Linked DNA regions of Homo sapiens: region 1 is linked to region 2. Evidence: promoter capture Hi-C in human tissues and cell types (Jung and others, 2019). All regions are on one chromosome and are shown on one strand. Each heading gives the region's core, a stretch centred on a gene start or on the middle of the fragment in contact. The rest is flanking DNA. Distances are from core to core; before and after follow the strand shown.

What was found. Contacts are between HindIII fragments. The study calls those that stand out against the background at their distance.
Region 1: a contact is called between a fragment that was not itself captured here and the fragment with the promoter of EMP2 in region 2, in 2 of the 25 tissues and cell types used here (H1 embryonic stem cells and liver).

What each region holds. Positions count from the first base shown.
Region 1 is chr16:10,665,865-10,669,996 of GRCh38, forward strand. The region is part of intron 5 of TEKT5 (tektin 5); the gene reads right to left. Among named protein-coding and RNA genes, the nearest start is that of TEKT5, 27 kb to the right of the region's middle. The HindIII fragment of the contact is 5,003 bases long and covers 257-4,132 here.
Region 2 is chr16:10,578,147-10,582,262 of GRCh38, forward strand. EMP2 (epithelial membrane protein 2) reads right to left here and starts at 2,452. Exons shown (of 5, transcript NM_001424.6): 1 at 2,403-2,452. RefSeq lists an enhancer at 478-1,055 and silencers at 726-1,020, 2,373-2,612. The HindIII fragment of the contact is 8,569 bases long and covers 1,351-4,116 here.

The DNA of each region.
Region 1 (4,132 bases), core at 1,508-4,007, 88 kb after region 2:
TAGCCTGAGATAGCTGGAAACCCACAGATAGCAGAGCCTCTGAAAGCCACATTCACACCAAGCCCAGCACCTACAGGAACGCAGTCTTCAACAGAACAGGGGCTGGGCGCGGTGGCTCAGGCCTGTAATCCCAGCACTTTGGGAGGCCGAGGCTGGTGGACCTCGGAGTTTGAGACCAGCCTGGCCAACATGGTGACACCTTGTCTCTACTAAAAATACAAAAATTAGCCGGGCATGGTGGTGTGCACCCATATAGGGGTGTGGATGCCCTGAAGAACCACCCTGTTTACCAAGCCACGGGGAGTAGGCACAGTCCAGGTTTTATACACTCAGATTCTTCCTATCTTCTGGAATCTTGTAGTTTATAAGAGGGCAATTGGCCTGTTCAGGCAACAGTTCATGAGTTCAGGACTCACGCAGATCTGAAGAATTCTGGAGGTCTTCTACCTCCTCAAACCCTCCCCTCCTGTTCCTCGGTGGTGCCTGGAATTCCTTTAAAACAAGGTTTCTCAGCCTCAGCACTACTGACATTCAGGCCCAAACATTCTTTGCTGTGGGGGGCTGCCCTGCGCCGTGTGGGATGTTTAGCAGTATCCCTGGCCTCTGCCCAGTAGATGCCAGCAGCACCCCCTCACCAAACTATAGCAACCAAAAATGCCTCCAAACATTTCAAGTGTCCTCTGGGGGACACAACTGCCTTCAGCTGACAACCACTACAGTGAAGAATTACTCAGGCCACAACTTCTAAGAAAATGCAGACTGCAGAGAGAGGGAACGCCTGCACAGGAATGAACAGCAGCCATTGATTACTGAGTGTCTGCATGGGTGGATCACCTTATGAAGCCAGGGATGGGGTGTTGTTCTGAAGTCAATACAAGGCGTGAGAACTGTGTCTCGTCAAAAGTGCCCTTGCAACCTGGTCATCCCTCCATCAGGACATACGGCTGTTTCCTTATTTGAATACTGATGCGGGTGTGTTTTCCTAAAACATGGCAGTCACTTTCATGGCACAGTTGCCCATATGAACTATCTACACTGATGCAGGGGTAACTATTCTGCCAGGGATTCCGATGAAATGAACTAAACTTCATTCAGCCTAACACTGGCTCCTTACTTTTTTTTTTTTTTTTTTTTTTTGAGACAGGGTCTCACTCTGTTGCACAGGCTGGAGTGCAGTGGCACAATCACAGCTCACCAAAGCCTTGGCCTCCTGGGCTCAAGTGATCCTCCCACTTCAGCCTCCCAAGTAGCTGGGACTACAGGCGCATGCCACCATGCCCAGCTAATTTTTATGTTTTTTGTAGAAACAAGATCTTACTCTGTGGCCCAGGCTGGTCTCAAACTCCTGGGCTCAAGCTATCCTCCCACTTCAGCCTCCAAAAGTGCTGGGATTACAGGCATGAGCCACCACGCCTGGCTTCCTTCCTTACGTATGTTAAAGATCTCTCCCCTACACAGTGAACTGTAACCTAACTGGATGTGTGAACAGCCTGGAACCGACTCCTATACCAATCACAGAATTTTAGCCAATCGCAGGCAGCCAACTGTTCAAATCATGTTCAAATAAGGCAAACAAACAATGAGCAGTAACCAATCTGGCTGTTTCTGTACCTGACTTCCGTCTTCTGTGCATCACTTTCCTTTTTCTGTCTGTAAATATCATCCGACCACGTGGCAGCTTTGGGGTTGCTCTGAATCCATTCTGGTTCAGGGGGCTGCCCAATTCACGAATCATTCTTTGCTCAATTAAATTCTGTTAAATTTAATCTGCTTTAAGTTTTTCTTTTAACATTCCCAAATTTCAGGTACTGGGCAGCATCGTCATCATATTTCCCATATCCACATACCATCTACATAATCATTTAATATTTTTCTTCAAATCAGCCTGTTTCAGGCTTTAACATATGTATTTGAAATGAAATCTTTAAATTATTTCCACAAGTGGAAAACTACTATTGTTTTCCACCAATAGAGGGTACCATAACAATAGGCAAAATGGGAAAAATAAGTTAATAATTTTTTTTTTTTTTTGAGATGGAGACTCGCTCTGTCGCCCAGGCTGGAGTGCAGTGGCATGATCTTGGCTCACTGCAACCTCCACCTCCCAGGTTCAAGTCATTCTCCTGCCTCAGCCTCCCAAGTAGCTGGAACTACAGGCATGCGCCACCATGCCCAGCTAATTTTTGTATTTTTAGTAGAAACGGAGGTTTCACCATGTTGGCCAGGCTTATCTGGAACTCTTGACCTCAGGTGATCTGCTTGCCTTGGCTTCCCAAAGTGCTGGGATTACAGATGTGAGCCACCACACCTAGCTGGAAAAAAGAAGTTAATAATTATATCTAGGTTCTATTGCTTTCCAAAGCTTCTAAGCCTGAGGCCTGATGCCTTTGTTAGAAAGGCAGACGGGCAAAGGAAGGATAGGTGTTAAAGAGAGGTCGGCATCATGATGAGTCTTCCTCCGTGACACCATCAGAGAAGAGAGAGACTTTCTCCCTGGGATGCAGTGGTGTCTCATGAGGAGGGTAGCACAGGGCCAGGCTGCCAGCTCCACTTCCCCAGGGCTGGGCCGGTTTTAGAAACCAGCCGTCAGTAGCTTGGCTGCAGGCTCCAGTGCTGGAAGGAATCGGCTGCAAAGCACAAAAGCATTTCCCACTGCACAATGGGTTCCAGACCTCCTTGGACAAACAGAGGGGTTGGCAGTAGACACGCAGGGCCTCAGATCACCAGCAGGGGCCCTCACCCCTCAGACGCCAGGCCTTCCTGCCCAGGCCTTCCTGGGAAGGGGTGGTTTTGCTGATGCTAACAATGGCTGCTTGGGAGTCAAAACCCCAAAGAAACTTCAGAATGAAACCAAAGCCCTTCAAGGTTAAAATTCATAGCCCTTCTCTGTTCTGTTCAACCTCTTCCTATGCCTGGATGTTTTGTTTATCTGCCTGTCTGAGTTTCCTCTGATATATAAAGCAGAGTGCACAAATACAGGGCTACAGGATCAAGTAAATAATGCAAATGAGGGAAGCGTGCTGTAATAGGGAGTGGTGGGGTCTGAGGCTAACTGGAGCACCTGACCCAAAGAGAGGCAGCAGCCACTCAACCCTTACCCACTGTTCCCCTGTAGAAACATGAGCTCTGAATTGCTAGAGCTACTAATTTTTCAAGAGACGCTGGAAATCTGAAATTTTTTTATGTGAAATCACCATTTTTTACCAAATATTTTTTGAACTCTGTGAGAGTGCATACAAATATGTGTACATGAGTGTTCACAGCAGCTTTATTTGTAACAGCCCCAAACTGGAAACAACCGAAATGCTTATCAACAGGTGAGGCCACGTACGGTAGCTCACGCCTGTAATCCTAGCACTTTGGGAGGCTGAGGCCGGTGGATCACCTGAAGACCAGCCTGGCCACCATGGTTAAACCCTATCTCTACTAAATATACAAAAAAAAAATAGCTGGGCAAGGTGGTGCATGCCTGTAATCCCAGCTACTCGGAAAGCTGAGGCAGGAGAATCGCTTGAACCTGGCAGGCGGAGGTTGCAGTGAGCCGAGATCGTGCCACTGCACTCCAGCCTGGGCAACAAAGAGAGACCCTGTCTCCAAAAAAAAATTATAAAAGGGAGATTGGCAGGTGTTAAAAGAGGTAAGGAAGGCATTCTAGCACTTTTGAGATGGTCAGAAGCAATGAAGAAGGAATAACCTTCTCATTGTATGATTCAGTGATATTAATGCTATATCCATGTAACACATATAATATTTCACCTGCCAGGGTCTAGTTCCCACAATGTCAGAATAAGCACTTTCTCCATAGAAGTATCCCTGACCCCACACATCCTACCCCCAAAAACCATATTTATGCATCTTTTCCCCCTACACATTAAGAGATCCCCCACTCAAATGCACATTCACTTGGGTAATTGCATGTAAATGAGGGGTTGTTTTTCTGGAAGTTTCCAGGGCCCTGGGTCTCAGAGGAATCAGCACTCAAAGGCAGCAACCCACTCTGTGGCCACCAACTTCTTTAGTCCAGAGAAGTCACCAGCTCCTTTGCTAGCAGTGGTCAGTATGACACAGTGATACCTGGAGCCTCAAAGTGCAAGGATGAGGCCCCGGGGCAAGCTATGAGGCTTGGGGTGTG
Region 2 (4,116 bases), core at 1,202-3,701:
GTGGCCTTTGCTGTGCCCTCACTGACCTGGAAGGCTGTATAGCAGAGGCGAGGGCAGGAGAGTGTCACTCTATGCCTAGGGTGAAAAATGGGCTGGTTGATCCTCCCTGTTAATTACCTGTTGCGGGAAATTGGGGAGTCTGTGCACATATGCATGTGGTTTTAGCTCCTACTACGAAGATATTATGTGAGAGGCAGAGAAAAGATACTGAGGTGAAACATTCACTTCCGTTCCAGGAAGAAAGGATTTAAGTGCCATTACTGGGGTGAGGGTGGAGAAGCGGGGGCGGTTTGCTAAATGGATGTGCTCCATAGCCACAATAAAACGCCACCAAGCCCTTTTAGCCCCTCATTAGCTAGACCCTAATCTGGGGTGGTGCCAGCCAGAGCGGGTGCACCCCCTCCTCCAGCCCGAGGTGGGGCAGTGTCAGCCCCAAGCCTCACCCTCCTCACAGGGACGCTTCCGCCTGGCCCTGCCCTCACCCACTCAGCTGGTCGACTCCGTGGTTTCCAACACAAACACATTCTCTGGATTTCAGGCGCACCTCAATCTCTCCACTTGAGGGGCAGAGGAGGCTCCAGGCTATGTGGCCAGCCCTCTGCCTCCTACTCGACTCCCTGGCTCCCCATGGGATGGAGGTGGTGAGATCCAAAAACCCTCAGTGGGAAAACAGGTTCTGCACCTTCCTGCCACCTCCACGCCTCTCCCTGGGCTGTAGTCTTGGCATTTGCCAAGGCCCCCGTGGGCATCCACGCCCTGTTTTCCCCAGAAGGGTCTCCCCTCATTCCCTGCAAACCAGCAGGGCATCTCCAGGTGGAAAGAAGGGGAGGGCTTGGGAGGCAGATGGAGGTTCAAGGTCTAGTTCTTTGCATTTACCAGCTCAGTGGCCTTGAGCAAACCGACTTAGATCTCTAGCCTGTTTCCCCACTTGCAACAGGAGAGCGTGCTGGAAACAGCTCAGGGGTGAGGCTCCCAGGGAGAAACGGAGATGGAGGGCGAGCACCAGCCAACTGCAAACCTCCAGCAGCTCAGGTCGCCATCCTTCCCCTTGTGTGACTCCTGGGAAACCAGGACCCCGTCCCTTCCTCGTCCTCTTTAAGCTTTCTTAACTGAAGGCCGAATTCCAGGAAGAGGTGCCCAGCAATAATGTGTCGGTTCTTAGATTTCTCTCTGATTCAGACTGGAGTGCAGAGGTGGCTAAAGGCGGCTTTTAAAAAATTTTTATGATAAAATATGCATAACATCATAATCATCATTTTAACCGATGATAAGCATACAACTCAGTGGCATTAAATACCTTCACGATACTGTGTAACCATTGCCACTATGTATACCCAAAACTTTTTCATCCTCCCCAAGAAAAACTCTGTCCCATTAAACAGTAACTCCCGGTTCCCAGGTACCCCCAGGCCCTGGCAACCATCATTCTACTTTCTGTCTATAAAATTTGCCTATTCTAGGTGTCTCATAAAAGTGGAATCACACTGTATTTGAACTGGAGGCTTCTTAAGTCCCTCTCCAAGCCCCTTACTTAGACACAGCTGAATTATAAGATCAAGGTGCACACACACACACACACACACACACACACACCCTCAAAGCTTGGGAGGGGCAGTGCTCCCTTCCCCAAAACTGAAGCTGGCCTGGAGGGAGAGCTTTGCCCTGTGGTGTCTTCGGAGTCCCCATGTCCAGCCCCACATCTTCACCTAAAAGACCTCCCTGGAGCGTGCTCAGATCTCTGGATTTGGGGAGGGCGTAGAATACACACTACGAGCTGCAGCCTCTCCTACCTCTGGAACACATGGGTGCGGTCTCGCCTCTTTAAAGCCCCCCAAGCCCTTCTAGAGTTGGCAGGGAGAGAGGTGTCATCCCAGCAGCGCCTCCCGGCTCCTCCACCGTTCCTGACCCCCAAGAAGTCGCTCCTCGCCGCTCGGGGGCGCGACGGAGCAGCGGCGGGGGCCTAGAGGGGTACGCAGCCCAGGAGGACCCGCTGGCCCGGCCTGGCGCACCAGTCCTGCCCGCGAGGCGAGTCTGGGGACGCTGCCCGGGAATCCCTCACGCGACCTGGGGATCTCCCTGGACTCCAAGAGCCCCGGGTGTAAGTCCGGCGGGGCGAGGGGAGGCGCCCTGACTCCTCCCCAAACTTTTCCCGCCTGCTTCGGCTCAAAAGGCGTGGGAAGCTGTCCCGGGATGGCGAAGTGGAATTCTGGGGCCGGAGCGAGCGTGGCGCAGACCAGAGGTCGGCGGCATGGGTGGCACCTCGGCCCTCCCGTTACTGTCACCAATTCCGGGGGCTGCTCCCGGTCCAGTAAGTGGAGGGGTCGCGTCCCTGCTGCCCGGGCGTACACGATCCCGGGGCCCCCCCGATGTCGCCCCGCGCCCTGGGTGCGCCCACAACTCACCCGGCGCTGGCGGCTGCGCTGGCAGCTGGATCGACGGACTGGCTGGGGGTGCGAGGCGAGGCCGCCGGGCTGTTTTGAAGCTCTGGGCTGGGACTGCGCGCCCTCCCTCCACCCTCTAGGCGGCGGGGCCCCTCCTTCCCCGATCCCGCCTCCCGGGCCGTGACGCCAGGAGCCGGGAGAGCCGAGTGGGAGGGGCCGCCGGCGAAAGGAGGGGGCCCTGGAGGGAAAGGCCGAGGCCGGGAGCGCCCTGGCGCCCCCGCACCACCGTTCCCGCCCGCCTCCCTGCGGCTCTGTGGCCAGCTTTGGGGCGGAGCCGGTGGCACGGGCCCGGGGGAAAAGGGAGAAAGGGAGGCTCCCGGGAGCAAGGGTCTTCCCTTCTCTGCAGGTTTCCACATCCCTCTCATTCTCTTTCCTCTCCTCTTCTCCCCTTTTCTTCCTCTTCCCTAAGGAGTTTTGGAATCCGGGCTCCCTGCTCTAGAACCCCTTCTCTGGCCTTTTATGAACTTCCTGAGCTCGTCCATAATCTCCCCTGTCTCAGTTTCCTCTTCTGGGAATGGGAGTGATTATAGGTCGGAAGGTGGTAATACGTCCACAATGTTTGGCTCATGGTACCTGCTCCATAGACGTCAGCCATTGTTATTTTTATCATCTCACCTGGAGTCCTGGCCTTGGTGCGAGATGCCCAGCAACCAGTCTTCAGACTCTTCCAGGACCCCCCGTTCACTCCCCCCACCCGACCAGTACACACACACACACACACACACACACACACACACTCACACAAAGCACTCCCCACAGCCTTTCAACCCACAGTCCTGGTATTTAGTGTCCCTGGAAATGACATCAAAGGAACTGCCTTTCTTTCCAGCCTCAGTTTCCCCATCTGGAAACTGGGAGGGCTGATCTGCTCTAGGGGCTCTTGGGAGGATGGGGGAGGAGACCAGAGGCGCCTGAGCCCCATCGTGTGTGTGTGGAAGGAGGGAGTGGGAGTCAGTGTATTTTTACAAATTGAAGAAATTCCAAAACAGGGTCACAACATATAACAGTATATTTTAAACTTTTAATTTAACAAGTTCATGTTACTTGCACATACCCCAGAATACAAGGCAATTGACTTGTGCTACTGACAAGAGAATGAGAAACCCTTTTAAGAAATGTTAATTTATTGTGCAATCCTGTGCTCTGGTTGGACTCCATGTTTGTATTTTCTGTTGAGCATCTTTTTTTAGTCCTGCTGAGGAGCTCTGTCACGAGAGGGCCTTGTTGGCTCTAAATTAGAGATCCTTGGGGGATTTGAGATCCCCTCTAAAGGGCCACCCCCTCCCCCAGGCCTTGAGCTTCCCAAGTTGGCCTAGGGTCTGACCTGCCAAATCTCCTTTAATTCTACAGTTAACCAAGACTCCCATCCCCCAAGATAATTGTGTGTGTGTGTGTGTGTGTGTGTGTGTGTGTGTGTGTGTGTGTTTGGAGCTGGAGAGGGGACAGGAAGGCACTAATATGAACTGAGTCCTCTTCCTCCATAAAAGGGGAGGAGGGTGAGGTCTGGTTGCTATAGAGGAGGACCAGGAAGGGCCCACCTACCTGCCTATGGCCATGTGGAGGACAGAGAAAACTCCAGAGTCTCCCAGAATGGAAAGGCCAGGTAGGGGATGGAGCAGGCAGGTTTCTGCATTTGCTGAGGGCTTAGTGTGTGCCGGTTACTTTACAAACATAA